Linked DNA regions of Homo sapiens: region 1 is linked to region 2. The links are contacts of gene promoters, found by promoter capture Hi-C in blood cells and fetal thymus (Javierre and others, 2016). All regions are on one chromosome and are shown on one strand. Each heading gives the region's core, a stretch centred on a gene start or on the middle of the fragment in contact. The rest is flanking DNA. Distances are from core to core; before and after follow the strand shown. Region 1 overlaps TTC34 (tetratricopeptide repeat domain 34). Region 2 holds the start of TPRG1L (tumor protein p63 regulated 1 like).

Region 1 (7,505 bases), core at 249-2,748, 990 kb before region 2:
GCCAGCCAGGTCACCTCTCTGAATTTTGTGGTTGCAACCTCCATGATTCCCTAGAGCTGTTTTTACCCAGAACTAATGAAAAATTCTGCACATTAAATTCATGCTATTAGAATCACTGTTGTGGTTTCCATCTCCCAAGTAGACCCCAACTGATACATAAATTCATACTAGGAGGGGGTCCCCAGAGACAGGCCCTCAAAGTGACACAGTCAGGTACCTCTTTGGTCACTTTGCCAGCCAGGTACCTCTGGCTGCTGACACCCCCCCTCCCCAGGCCTCTCTTGGCCATGCTACCTGCCGCAGGAGGTGGCCCACCCACTCAGCCTGCCTGGGCCACACCTGGCTGTTCACCAGCTCAGCCTGTGGCTGGGCTGGGCATGTTCCAGCCTGCTTGTGTTATAGCTTGTACCCATGTATGGCAGTTCCCAAGTTCTTGTCCCGTGTCCAAGAAGAATGAGGAGATGCTGCCAATCGAAGTGTGAGAAGGGCAGAGAAGAATTTTATTGAGAGACGGAACAGCTCTCAGCAGAGAGGGGATGCACGGGTGGTTCCCGACCTGAAGTCAGGTGGTTTCTCTCCTAGTGTGGCTGGGTCCGGGGCATTTATGGGCTCAGAATGGGGGAGTGCATGCTGATTGGCTTCTGATTATGCAAAAAAGGCTTAAACAAAGGTACCACTCAAAGGTGGGCATGCCAGTGTAGAAAATGAATTAGGAAAAGATAGGTACATGTAAAATAGGTGAAGGGTGGGGATCAATCAGAGGAAAGCAGCCAAATGGGAAGATGGGTTCTCAATCCAGGCTGAGGATTTAATTTGTAGCTTGGCTTTCAGGCTTTAAACTGTCTTTGGCTCGGAGGTGGGGTTTCACTGGGAACCTGTCCCTGTCTGCCTAGGATTTGTCTGCCTCCTGTCACTATCAAAAGGTGGGGTCCGGGGATTAGGTTAGTGTGGTTGTTGCTTGGGCTGGGCTGCAGGCCGATCTCCTGGCCAGTGGGAAGGGGAGGCTGTTGGCCCACAGTGTTGTTGGGGGAGCTTCACAGTTAACCAAGCCATCCCCCATGCTGGCTGTGAGGCACCAGCAGAATTGAGGGCCTCGGGAACCCACGTGCTGCTGTGTGAGGCTGTCACGGCCACGAGGATGACCACAACCACGAGGGCTGTGGGGGGTCCCCTGAGTGTCCAGCAGCACTAACAGGAAGGAACCACACGTTCAGGTCTCTAAACTCAGTTTAAGTCATAGACAGAGAATCAGGACTGCCATGGCCATGGAAGAGTCCCTTGTTCCTGAGAGCCTCGGGGCTGCTGCTGCTACAACTCGGATGCACAGTTTAACTCTGAGTTGTGTGACTGCTGTGTGGCTCACACTCACAGCCTCACTACTGAAACGTGGGCACTGAGTGGGAAGGAACTGGATGCTGAAGCTTGGCATGGGGATGTCTGGTTGGGCTCAGATGAAGCTGAGAATTGTGAACCCCCTGGTTCTCTGAGCCTCTCCTTCCAGGGGAAGCAGCTTGTCCTCCAAGATCTGAGAGTAGCCTTTATTTATTTTTTTTGTTCTGCTTGAAAATGCTGTGATAAGCTTACCTGGCCAGGTGCCTAGAAATGATGCTCATTTTATTTAACCACCATAGCCACCCTGTTGCCTCTAGAACCTCAGTGTACTCCCAGGGAGGGGAAGGGTCAAGTACAAAGCCTGACTCAGGAAGGAACCACTTTCACACCAAAATGCTCGTAAGATGTTACAAATTCACACACGGAGACCTGGGAACCGTGTGGGAATGGAGGGTAGGGTATTAATGCAGCTGGACCGGCTTGGCTTTATTGATGCAGGTACACTTACTAGAGATTCTGAATTTAATGCGCTAGCTCACATTAGCTGCTGGAAATGACTCTACCAGTTTACTTGGTTGAATGAAATCTGGATTTGCTGGCGGTCTACAGTTAATGAAGGGGAGATGCTGGAATGTCCCTGGTGTAACGTCGAGGCAGGAATCGTGCAAAGCAAGGGCCACCCTCCGTCCCAGCCTGATTTCTCTCCACCTCCAGCTGAGCACTGAGGAAGACGCAGGCCGGGGACTGCCCAGGGAAGTGGTGGATCTGCAGACAGCGTGAGCTCCTGGAGCGTCAGGACCCAGAGCAGCTGTGGACATGCCCCTCCAGGCGGGACACCCAGGCCTCAGGGACGAGTGCGTCCATGCCTTAAGGGCTGCTGGTTGTGGGTGTCTGCTTGGTCCTGGAGAAACTACCTCAGGAAAAGCCAGGGCTGGACCCCAGCAGGGATGGGATAAGGGGAACCGAGACTCACCCACTGTGCTCAGGGCAGAGGTGGTGGGCCGCGGGAACGGGCATGTCTTTGTCTATCTGGACTGCCCCAACAGAATAGCAGAGACAGGTGGTTCATCAACAGATACTTATTTCTCACAGTTCTGGAGGCTGGAAGCCCAAGATGAAGGTGCCAGCTCGCTCTCTAGTGAGGATCCCTTCCTGGTTCACAGACAGCTTCTCACTGGGTCTCCACATGGTGGAGGGGCTTGGGAGAACTCTGGGGTCTCTTTTATAAGGACACTAATCCCACTCATGAGGTTCCACCCCTGGTCATCTCCCAAAAGCCCCACTTCTGATACCATAACCTTGGGGGTTAGGATCGCAACACATAAAGTTTGGGGGAATGCAGACATTCAGAGCCCAGCAAGGAGCCAGGCCAAAGGCTGATGAGAGATACCTGCTGGGTGAGCTGGTGGTAGAGGGGGCAGCCCCCTGGTGGGGGAGAAACACAGCGATCCTGAGGTCCAGGAGGAGCCTCAGCGGGGCTGGCATCTACACTCAGCCTTGCACGGATGGATGGGGCAGGACATCCCAGGCGAGGAGGACGGTAGGAGCAGGGAACGTGGTGGGGAAGGGCACCCCTAGGGGACGCCTCCCCACTGCCTCCACCTGGCCCCGACATTGGAGCAGGCCCTTCTGCTGTGACCAGGCTCTCTGGACCAGCCCTTGCCTCCTCTGCCTCAGTGCCGACTGGCCCACCTGACCCGAGGAACTTGCGTGTCCCTGAACTTAGCTCTTGGGCTGCTGACAGGTGTTTGTTGAGTCCTTGAGCACACGGGTGAAGACAGGGAGGGAAGGGTGGATGGGGAGCTGGCAGGCGGAAGATGGATCAAATTGGTGCCTGCGCTGGGGAACCCCGGAAGAGGGGGACTGCGTGAAGATTCCGAGCGGGGAAGGCGAGGAGCGGGGCTGAAGGTCCCTGTCAGGGCCCTCTCCCACTGTGGGCTGCCCATCCCCGAGGTACTCAAGGTGGGAGGCACTGACCCTTTACCCAGACCCCTGTGGCCAGAGACACATAGGCGGTGCCAGCTGATGAAGGTGCATGGGGGTTGAGGAGTGGGTGAGGCCTGAGGAGGAGGGGGGCTACCCAGCCCTGCACCTGCCGCCTGGGGGCCCCACTTCCATGCAGGGCGAGGAATAGGGCCCCTCCCTGCCTGACCCCCTGGACTGGGGTTCGTCAGATGATCCCAGAAGCGAAGTGGGTGGAGAGGCAGGGGGTCTATCTGTGGGTTCAAGACCATGGAAGGAAGCGGCAGAGAAGGGGACAGAAATGGGACAAATGCAAGTGCCCAGGAGGAGAGAGAAGCCAGGAGGGGGGGTCGTGGCCCTGTCTCCCCAGGGTGAAGTCAGGCAGGGCTTGGGGGCACGTTTTGCACCGAGTCAGCTCACCCAGCATGTCTCTCGCCCATGGCCATGAGAGAAAGCCCCGGGCTGAGGCCTCAGTCTGTGACACTCACAGTGATGGGCAAAGGCTGGCTGCCTCTGCCCCACCCAGAAGTCCCCAAGCTCACTGGCAGCTGCAAGGCCTGGGGACATTTAACGCACGTATAAGAACAAGCTGTTCTCTCGCTCTGTGGAAGCACTGATACCTCCCAGCAGCTTCGGGAGACAGGTCTGGTGGGAGCCTGGGGACTGTGCTCATCAGGGCCCCTCGGTGGTCCCTCTGCTTGGAAGGGAGGGGCCTGTGGAGGAGGGAGGAAGTTTACCCCCAGCACACTGGATTCTCGATGAAGGGCCCCCATGAAAGCACCCTGAAAGGTCAGCTTGGGGTATGGGCTGGCTGGGCCCATTTGGGAGCTCTGTCTCTGGAGAGGGCTCAGGCTCTACTGGAGGCTGGCCCAAGGCTCAGGGTCCAAGCAAAACGCAGCTTCACACCCAGGGAGGGGCTTCTGGGGCTGGTACCATCTCCCCAAGGGCCCCAGGAGTCTGGCCTCAAACCTGTCCAACCTGTAGGATCCCAGGCCAGGGACGAGACCTGGGGCTGCTTCTTCAAGGTCTGAGCCCCAGGTGTGGGCCAAGAGGGCCCCAACTGCAGGGACCAGGTTGCTGGTGGTAGAAGGGACTGTGAAGCTTCTAGGATGGTCCCTTCATGCAAGTAGGAAGCTGTCCCCTGTCCTTCCCAAGGCAGAGGTGTGAGGCTGGCTGTCCAACACTGACTCATGCTGGGGCAGGGAAGCGGGGTGTGGGGAGGGCAGGGAAGGGGGGTGTGGGGAGGGCTGGGAAGGGAGGTATGGGGAGGGCTGGGAAGGGAGGTATGGGGAGGGCTGGGAAGGTGGTGTGGGGAGGGCTGGGAAGGGGGAGGGCTGGGAAGGGGTGTGTGGGGAGGGTGGGAAGGGGGGCTGTGGGGAGGGTTGGGAAGGGGGGTTGTGGGGAGGGTTGGGAAGGGGTGTGTGGGGAGGGCTGGGAAGGGGGTGTGGAGAGGGCAGGGCAGGTACCTCCCCGATTTAGGGAGCTGGGTACACCCCTGGGCCTGGACATCAGGTGCAGATGCTAGGGTGGCCCCGTGATTAGGGCTGGGAGAGGGTCAGGCCCAGTCACTGTAGCCAGCAGCCTGAGGATGCCTCCCTCCGGATTCTGGCCTTCAGTCTCTTCAGGCCACGGTGGTCGGGGTCCACCAGGAGGCCGCTCTCTACCGCCGTCCAGGCCTCTGCGTGACGCTGCTCCTCCAGGCAGCACTGCCCGCGGAGAAGGAACATGCGTGCAGTGGGGGCCCGGCCTGGCTGCCTGCACAGGCTGTTCTGGGCCAAGGAGGGCGCCAGCTTCAGGGCCTGGGCAAAGGCCCCTGCGGCCGCCGCCTCATCCCCCAGGCTCAGCAGCAGGCGACCCTGACGGCAGAAGTCCTCTGCCCGCCTTGGGAGGTCACCATCCCCCAGCGCCTCCTGGAGCACATGGTCCAGGTCCCTAAGGGCCCGGCCAAACTCCTGCAACTCGGCCAGGCAGGTGGCCCGCAGACGCAGGTGACAGGCACTGCTGCCACTGGCCAGGACAGACAGCGAACAGTAGCCCAGCGCCTGCCTGGGTTGCCCTGCGTCCAGGAGGGTGCCGGCTTCCTGGGCCGCCGCCTGCACAGAGGACACAGAGAGAGGCAGGGAGAGTGGGGTCAGCCCCAAAAGCCCGGCCGCCCCTGCCCTGCAGAGGTCCTCTGCACAGCCAGCTTCTGCTGGCTCCCTGGGGATGGCGGGGCCCTGGGCTGCACAGGAGCTGCCCGCTGCTTCTGGAGGGGCTGGCTGACCATGGGCAAGGGCAGGAAGGGGGACCCAGGGTAGAGGACCCCTCCCTGCAATTCCCACTGCCCTGGAACCTGCCAAAGTGCTGTTCCGACCCTTGGCCCAAGGCCTGGCATCCTTGCCCACTGCTCTTCTCCCTGGGCCTCGGATCAGGGACCTGGATTTACCTCCTCATGGTCCCCTCCTGGCAGCCCTACCGCCCCACCGGCTGGGCCCAGGTTCCCTTGACTGGGTGACCACACCGGCCTCCTCCCTCGGTCCCTCTGGGCCAAGTCACCTCTCCATCGGGCCCTCTGAGGGGGCTGCTGCCCAGCCCTTCCACTCTGCCCACCTTCTGAAGGCTGCTCCAGGCCTCTGAGCACGTGCACCCTAGCCCCTCTCCCTGGGGCTGCTGGACGGAGGGCACAGCCTGTGCTGTGGGCTGCTGCTGGCCAGGCCTGCCTGCCCCCCCCACTCCTCCCGGGCACTTTCCTGAGCCCACCCAGGCCCAATCGCCTCATCTCTGACCCAGTTTTTTCACAGAGTCAACCACGACCAGAAATCCGCTCGCCTCGCTGGGCTCCTCCTCCGCTCAAGAATCTGCAGGGGTTCCCCGCTGCCTGAGGAACACGCCAAGGTGCAGGCCCCGCCTTTCTCGCTGGCGCTGCCTCTCTTCCAGCAGCCCGGCGGTCCTCGACGCTACCTCCCCCGGGGGGCGCAGCGCACCCAGGACCCCGCCAGGCTTGGCCGCACGGGGCGAAGCCGAGGCCCACGCCCGGGGTCCGTGCAGGGAGCGAGGGGGTCCCACGGCCCCGGCTTTGCTGCTGGGCTCCCGCAGGGCACAGTGTGGCCTCTTCTGCCAGCTGTGAGCGGCGCTGAGCAGGGCAGGGGCTCGAAACCCCGTCCCTCGCCTGCGGTGCGGCCCGCGGGACCGCCCCTCTCCGGGCGGAGGCACCTGACCCCGACCCGTAGTTCACGGCCCGGGGTGGTAGTGAAGCCTCGGCCCGCGCAGGACCCGCACATTTGGGCCGGGTCCATGGCAGCAGGAGGGCGAGGCCCCGAGCAGCTGTCGGACCCCGGGAGCCCCCAGGCCGCCCCAGTGGGGAAGGGCGCTCAATCCGACCCCAGACTCCCCTGAGCCCGCGGCTCGGGCCGCGCAGGCGCAGTGCCACCCGGAGGGGGCCGCCTGCCGAGGGGCGGGGCGCAGGAAGCGGGGCGAAACCACTGTTGGCTCATTTCCGGGTGGGTCCCCGTCTCCAGGCAACCATTTCGCGTCCTGCAGATTCTTGCCTGTGCCGGGAGCCGCCTCCTGGCGCCGCAGCCCAGCCGTATTCTGCAGCCTCGGAGACCCGCGTCCAGCCCCGCCTCCGGGCTCGGTGACCCCCGTTCAGGAGACCCCATCTAGCCGCCTCCTCTGGGCTCCGGGACCATGGCCCCAGCCAGGCTTCCCGCCCCCTGCCAGGCCCTGCTCCCACCTCGAAGACCCCAGCACAGACCCCTCCTCCTGGCTTGGAAACGCCCAGTCCCTCTGGGAGCTCTGAGACCCCACCCCGCCCAGCCCGGCCGCCTCCTCTAGGTCCCGATAACCCAATCTCAGCGTTGCTCTTCAGCTCGGGGGGGGCAGCGGCGCCCCCTCTGCAGCACCGAACTGCCCCTTACACTGGTGTAGCCCCGACTCCGCCATGAGCTCCCTGTTCTTCCTAGTGTGGTTTCTGTTTTCCTAAGTGGCCCCGGAGTGCTAGAACCCGCTGGTGTCAGGAAGCATTAAGGAGGTGAAATCCTGCCCAGGCCCCACTGGGGTGTAGTTCTGCCTCTGGGACCCCAAAGCCTGCTGTGCTCTTGGCCTCCCAGCCTGCCTTGTCCCCACGTGCCTTCTCCCGGCCTGCCATGGGTTTGGGGTGGGCTTCCTGCCGGGCAAGGTGCCCCTGGCTGGCTCAGTCTGGCCCTGAGGGCAAGGTCCTCTTCCCTCTCTTG
Region 2 (7,274 bases), core at 3,502-6,001:
TTGCAGCCTGACTATGTGGTAGAAAACCCATTGTCTGGGGGAGAAATTCAAGCCATCAGCTGTAGAAATGTCTCCAAGACATTTCAGAGAGCTTCACGGCAGACCCTCCCATCACAGGCCCAGAGGCCTTGGGGGCAAAATCAGCTCCAGTCAGGGCCAAAAGGGGTCAAGGGACAGCCCAGGCGGAGCCCGTAGGTGTGCAGAAGACAAGAGGTGAACTTCGGGAGACTCTGCCTAGATTTCAGAGGATGTATGGAAACACCTAGAAGTCCAGGCTGAAGTCTGCTGCAGGGGCAGAGCCCTCATGGAGAACCTCTGCTAGGGCAATGCAGAGGGGAAATGTGGGGTGGGAGCCTCCACACACGGAGTCCCCACTGGGGCACTTGTAGGGACCAGCCCTACAGGGTCAGTGGGTCTTTCTCCCCATGTGCAGAGATGAGAGATCGTAGAAATAAAGACACAAGAGAAAGAGATAGAAGAAAAGACAGCTGGGCCCTGGGGGACCACTATTACCAAGGCGCGGAGACCGGTAGCAGCCCCGAATGCCTGGCTGCGCTGTTATTTATTGGGTACAAGACAAGGGGGCAGGGTAAGGAGTGTGACTCATCTCCAATGATAGGTAAGGTCACGTGGTTCACATGTCCACTGGACAGGGGGCCCTTCCCCGTTTGGCAGCTGAGGCGGAGAGAGAGAGGAGAGACAGCTTACGCCATTATTTCCGCATATCAGAGACTTCTGGTACTTCCACTAATTTTGCACCTGCTATCTAAAAGGCAGAGCCAGGTGTACAGGATGGAACATGAAAGCGGACCAGGAGCATGACCACTGAAGCACAGCATCACAGGGAGACAGGCCTCCAGATAACTGTGGGCAAGCCTGACTAATGTCAGGCCCTCCACAAGAGGTGGAGGAGTAGAGTCTTCTCTAAACTCCCCTGGGGAAAGGGAGACTCCTTTTCCTGGTCTGCTCAGTAGTGGGTGCTTTTCCCTTGGCACTGACGCTGCCACTAGACCACGGTCCGCTTGGTAACAGGCGTCTTCCCAGACGCTGGTGTTACCGCTAGACCAAGGAGCCCTCTGGTGGCCCTGTCCGGGCATAACAGAAGGCTCGCACTTGTCTTCTGGTCACTTCTCACCATGTCCCCTCAGCTCCCATCTCTGTACGGCCTGGTTTTTTCTAGGTTATGATTGTAGAGCGAGGATTATTATAATATTGGAATAAAGAGCAATTACTACAAATTAATGATTAATGATATTTACATATAATCATATCTATGATCTAGATCTAGTATAACTCTTGTTATTTTATATATCTTATTACACCGGAACAGCTCGTGCCCTCGGTCTCTTGCCTCAGCACCGGGGTGGCTTGCTGCCCACAGGCACTGACTAGTGGAGCTACGAGAAGGGGGACACTGTCCTCCAGACCCCAGAATGGTAGATCTACCAGCAGCTTGCACCCTGCACCTGGAAAAGCCGTAGGCACTCAGGGGCAGAGCTTCCCAAGGCCTTGGAAGCCCACCCCTTGCATCAGTGTGGCCCTGGATGTGAGACATGCAGTCAAAGGAGATTATTTTGGAGCTGTAAGATATAATGACTAACCCACTAGATTTTGGACTTGCATGGGGCTTTTAGCCCCTTTGTTTTGGCCAAATTCTCCCTTTTGGAATGGGACCATTTACCGAGTGCCAGTACCTCCATTATACCTTGGAAGTAACTAACTTGTTTTTGATTTTACAGGTTCATAGGCAGAAGGGACTTTGTCTCAGATGAGACTTTGGACTGTGGACTTTTGAGTTAATGCTGAAATAAGACTTTGGGGGACTGTTGGGAGGGCATGATTGGTTTTGAAATGTAAAAAGGACATGAGATTTAGGAGGGGCCGGGGTAGAATGATATGGTTTAGCTGTGTCCCCACCCAAATCTCATCTCGAATTGTAATCCCCACATGTCGAGGGAGGGACCTGGTGGGAGGTGATTGGAGCATGGGGGCGATTTCCCCCGTGCTGTTCTTGTCATAGTTCTCACAAGATCTGATGGTTTAAGTGTGGCACATCCCACTACCCCCGCCGCCATGTAAGACGTGCCTTGCTTCCCCTTTGCCTTCCGCCATGATTGTAAGTTTCCTAAGGTCTCCCCAGTCATGTGTAACTGTGAGTCAATGAAACCTCTTTTCTTTATAAATTACCCAGCTTCAGGTAAGTTCTTCATATTAATAGCAGTGGGAAAACAAACAAACACAGTGACCTTATTTGATCAAACATGATGATGATCGACTAAAGATGAGGTCACTAGGGTGGTCCCTAATCCAACAGGGATGTTGCAGAAGAGACCCACCTGGAGAAGGTCGTGTGAAGATGGAGGCAGGGATGGGAGCAGTGCATGAGCAAGCCCAGGACACCAAGCAGGCCTGGCAGAGCAAGACATGCGTCAACCCTCAGGGCTGCAGAGGGAGCATGGCCCTGCACACTCCTTGATTTTGCACTTCTGGCCTCCAGGGCTATGAGGAAACACGTTTCTGTTGTTTTTAAAACAGTTGTTGTTTTTAAAACCAGTTTGTGATGCATTGTGACAGAAGCCCCAGGAAACTCATCCATACTGAGTGAAATTTGTTTATTGTCTAAAATACAGTCCCTCCATCATCTATCCCTCCTATCATTTCTGGAATTTATAGACATCCAAGTCACTCCCCATATCCACAGAAGGCTCAGGCACCTGGTTCAGAATCCTCATTGTCCTGCCAGCTCCCACCAGCAGTCTGCAGCCTCGGCCCCAGCCAGTGTCACTTCATCCCATTCCCTGGACATCTGGTTCCAGGACCACAGCTCCATCCTTGGCGTGGTCCAGAACTTGCTCCTACCTCTCTCCCCCATTCTCCCTCTTTCTCCCCCCCATTCTCTCTCCCTCTCTTTCTCATTCTCCCTTCTCCTCCCTCTTTCTCCCTCCCTCTCTCTGGAATCTCTGGTTCCAGTTGCCCATCACTGACTACAGCTTGCAGCTGTCCAGGTATTTCTCATCTACATCCACTCAGCTCCCTCCCGGCCTCTGTTCTTCCTCCCTCAGGGGTATTCTCCCACTCACCAGCACCTGTTGGATCCGCGGCCATTTCTAACCGGACTGGATACTTGGACCTCAAGGTCCCCGCTGGTAAGATAGCTGGGAGACACTCGTCTGTAGGTCCCTCTGGCAGGTCTTGCTGGGCGTGCCAAGAACACATTGCCCTGACCACTCTTTTCTGGGCCATTTCTCACGCCTGTGCTTGCAGTGGGCACCCTTGCCGGGGAGACAGCCTCCCTGTGGGACAAAGACCACATTGGTCCACAGGATCCAGGGTCCTGTTTTGTAGTGCACCCGCTGTGGTGCAACATGCGTCTGGGCACACCAGCGTCGCCCGTTTCCTGTTGTAGTCTTTCCTCTCTGACTCCAGGGGTATTGGGTCTTTCTGCCAGCGCCCATGCAACTTTGGCAGCCTGGCCTGTCTGCTGGCAAGTGGGGCAGAATCCCTGCACTCCACCATTCTTGGGCAACACTCCCTCTAGGATTTTGGCCTCCCTTTTCTCTCTGGTCTTTGACCACCGCTACCCAGCAAACTCCTCCATCTAGACCAGCCAGCATTGGTTTCTTCCACTCCCCCAGCTGCCGCGTGGGAGGCGCCACTGCAAACTTCCCTGGGGTCTCCCAGCTGCTCAGAGATCCCCATGCCCTTCCCTGATCAGCTCCCTGCCCGGTTCTCATCCCGGCGATTCTAAACCGTCCATCTTTACAAATACTCCGCTCCATCCCCACTCCCTGACTGAAGTAAACAGATGTATCCTGAACTCCTCATTCTCCCCCCATCTCACTCTCCTCGCCTGTGTGCACCTCGCCTCGTGTGTCTTCCTCACCTCCGAGCAGAGGGATCTGTCCTCCTGCCCGAAGGTAACCCTGACCCCTGGACTCTGCGCCTCCTTCCCGCAGCCTCCACCAGATTGCGGGTCCGTTCACCGCCCCCCTCCACACGCGCTGGGGGCACCTCCGGGAGCTGGGGCTAGCGCAGGGCACACACATGTTCCACCTCGAACTGCGAGCGCTGACCGGGATCTCTGGGCAGCCCTCTCTGTGTGCACTGGCTTGCTGAAGGCTCGCGACAGCCTGGGCCCGGGCGCGCATTCCAGCACTTTCTACCCTCCGGCTTCAGAGTGCATTGCTCTGTGGATCCGTCACGAATAAGCCGTGTGTGAAGAACGCCAGGTCCCGGCAGAAGATCGCTGCCCGGCGTGCGAACTCCCCCACGGTGCACCAGGGCCGCCGCCCTGCATCCTCCAACCTCAGCTCCCCGGCACCGCGACCCTCCGTGCAGTGCGAGCCCCCGATGGGCGCGCGCCCCCACCTGCGCTCCAGAAGGCCGAAGGGGGCATCCCACTTGCAGGGCGGGTCACCCGCTTTCCCCGCGGGCCAAGGGGCTCCAAGATTCCCAGCCCCTCCTTCCCAGCCGCTCCGCGACACCCTGGCAACCGGCTTCGGCCCCGCCCCTTCTCGTTGTGTAAACAGGAAGTGAGCCTGCGCGTGACGGTCGCTTCCGGCCCGGCGAGGGGCGGGAGCGATTGTGAACGGCGGCGGGGCAGAGCCAATCGCGGAAAACGGCAGGAGGAGAGCCAATCCCGAGGGTCGGCGGACGCGGGAAGGGGCGGAGCCAGAGGCGGGGCCGGCAAGGCGGAGCCAATCGCGGCGGTCCGCGGGGCGGGGCCGGGGGCGCGGCCGGGTGGTGGCGGTGGCTGCGGCGACGGCGGTCGCGTCGGCGTCAGGGTCGGGGTCGGTAAGGGGTGCGGCAATGCTGCAACTGCGGGACTCGGTGGACTCGGCCGGTACGAGCCCCACGGCGGTGCTGGCGGCCGGCGAGGAGGTGGGGGCAGGCGGCGGCCCGGGCGGGGGGCGGCCGGGGGCGGGGACGCCGCTGCGCCAGACACTCTGGCCTCTCAGCATCCACGACCCCACGCGCCGCGCCCGCGTCAAGGAGTACTTCGTGTTCCGGGTGAGGCAGGGGCCAGGGCCGGGGCGGGGGCCGAGGGCGCGGGGCGGGATGGGGGCGGGTGGGGTCGGAGGCGGGCGCCGGGCGGTCCCGCAGGGAGCGAGCTGTGACCTGTGATCTTTGCCCCCGTCCCCCACCCCGCAACCCGCCCAGCCCGGCAGCATCGAGCAGGCAGTGGAGGAGATCCGCGTGGTGGTGCGGCCCGTGGAGGACGGCGAGATCCAGGGAGTGTGGCTGCTTACCGAGTAAGCCGGGGCTGCGCTCTCCTTGGTGGGGGGACTCGCCCCGAGCCGCCGCGCAGCACCTTGCGAGGACTTCCCGGGGTGCTCGTGCCACGCTCAGGCGCCCCGTGCCGCCCCTGCTGCCCTTCCAGGCGGGCTGGCCTTGGCTAAGTCGAGACAGCCGCGTCCAGTGTGGACTGAGGCCCCTCCTCTGCCTACAGGGTGGATCACTGGAACAATGAGAAGGAGCGGCTGGTGCTGGTCACGGAGCAGTCCCTGCTTATCTGTAAATACGACTTCATCAGTCTCCAGTGCCAGCAGGTGGTGCGGATAGCGCTCAACGCAGTAGACACCATTTCCTACGGAGAATTCCAGTTTCCCCCTAAATCGCTCAACAAGTAAGCCTGTTCAGAGTCCAGTATCACTGGACCTAAGCACCAGAGTGGACCTTACAATTCAGCCCTTTTAAATCAGCCCCCCAAGCGGTGTGTCTTCTCTGTCATTAATTATAAGCACAAAGGCTCCAGCTCCAAATATCAATGGGAAGTTCCTTAAAAAGAAGCGACTTCTGGGCAATTGAGTGCATTAAAAGGAATTCTGGCACAGAAGGCAGCTATTAGGCTGGTAGTAAAAAGACTTACATGAGTTCAGGATGCATTGAAGTAGAGCCCAGCGTGTTAAAAAGGAACTTGGATGTTCTTCAGGAAAAGTCCAAACTCTGCATTTTTCTCCAGCCAGGGACAGATTGCATATGACACATCAAGTCTTGCTCTGGCTAATTTTTTAAAGAGAAATGGAGGGTCCCGTTGTAATTTATAGATACCACTAAAAGACAAATTTGGAAATATTTAATGACCAGCTTTCAGGAGTTGATCTTTTTGCTGTAGGATAATTTTCTGACGTGAGGAACCTAAACATTACTACAGTCAGTTAAGCTGTAGAACTTGGGTTTTTGATGGAGAGATTTGGATGGGGGATTCAGGAAGCTAAAATAAAAATTTTACCTTTTGGTTAAAACATTTAATATGACATAAGGAAAAGGAAGATTACACTTCCTTTTCACTCATTTGGCTAGCCTATCTATAATTATTCCCTTTTTTTTTTTTTTTTGAGACGGAGTCCCACTCTGTCACCCAGGCACCAGTGGTGCAGTCTTGGTTCACTGCATCCTCCACCTCCTAGGCTTAAGTGATCCTCTCACCTCAGCCTCCCAAGTAGCTAGGACTACAGGTGCCCGCCACCACACCCAGCTAATTTTTGTATTTTTTGTAGAGATGGGGTTTTGCTAGGTTGCCCAGGCTGTTCTCAAACTCCTGGGCTCAAGAGATCCGCCCATTTTGGCCTCCCAAAGCGCTGGGATTATAGATGTCAGCCACCGTGCCCAGCCAGTATTCCTGTTTATTAATTTTTAATCATGTAAAGATTACCAAAATAATACATTTAATAACCAAAATATACCTAATTTGTCATATTTATACCCACAGTATTTAAAGCAATTGTTAGTGGAGATTGAAGTTACTACTAAAAACCACAGGCCGGCCAGGCACGGTGGCTCACGCCTGTAATCCCAGCACCTTGGGAGGCTGAGGCGGGCGGATCACCTGAGGTCAGGAGTTTGAGACCAGCCTGACCAAAATGGATAAACCCTGTCTCTACTAAAAATACAAAATTAGCTGGGTGTGGTGGTGCATGCCTGTAATCCCAGCTACTCCGGAGGCTGAGTTGGGAGAATCGCTTGAACCCAGGAGGTGGAGGATGCAGCGAGCCAACATCAGGCCACTACACTCAAGCCTGGGCAACAAGAGCAAAACTCCATCTCAAAAAATAAAAATAAATAAAAACAAAAATAAAAACTACAAGCCGTTTTCCATTGTGATATGTCATAGGTCTTTTCTGTAAACGTGTGCTTTTTGCTGTCATATTCTCCTAACTGATGAGACTGTCAGATTGTCCATGAGAGCACTGTGGCCTGCCATGCTAAGTCTGGCTATTTCTTCTGACTTTTCAGGCGAGAAGGTTTTGGGATTCGAATTCAGTGGGACAAGC

What was found. Contacts are between HindIII fragments. The CHiCAGO score rates a contact against its expected background, and 5 or more counts as called.
Region 1: a fragment that was not itself captured here is called in contact with the fragment with the promoter of TPRG1L in region 2 in 1 of 17 cell types (total B cells); the score reaches 6.1 in total B cells.

The regions. Positions count from the first base shown.
Region 1 is chr1:2,636,509-2,644,013 of GRCh38, forward strand. It overlaps TTC34 (tetratricopeptide repeat domain 34), which reads right to left. Exons shown (of 9, transcript NM_001242672.3): 9 at 478-5,387. The coding sequence ends at 4,860. MMEL1-AS1 (MMEL1 antisense RNA 1) reads left to right here. Exons shown (of 3, transcript NR_183343.1): 3 at 1-112. Among named protein-coding and RNA genes, the nearest start is that of MMEL1, 7.2 kb to the left of the region's middle. RefSeq lists a silencer at 1,529-1,729. The HindIII fragment of the contact is 158 bases long and covers 1,420-1,577 here.
Region 2 is chr1:3,620,264-3,627,537 of GRCh38, forward strand. It overlaps TPRG1L (tumor protein p63 regulated 1 like), which reads left to right and starts at 4,752. Exons shown (of 5, transcript NM_182752.4): 1 at 4,752-5,010; 2 at 5,161-5,252; 3 at 5,450-5,626; 4 at 7,237-7,274. The coding sequence starts at 4,810. It also overlaps a transcript of MEGF6 not described here. RefSeq lists enhancers at 4,026-4,145, 5,126-5,788 and a silencer at 4,596-4,825. The HindIII fragment of the contact is 13,719 bases long and covers 1-7,274 here.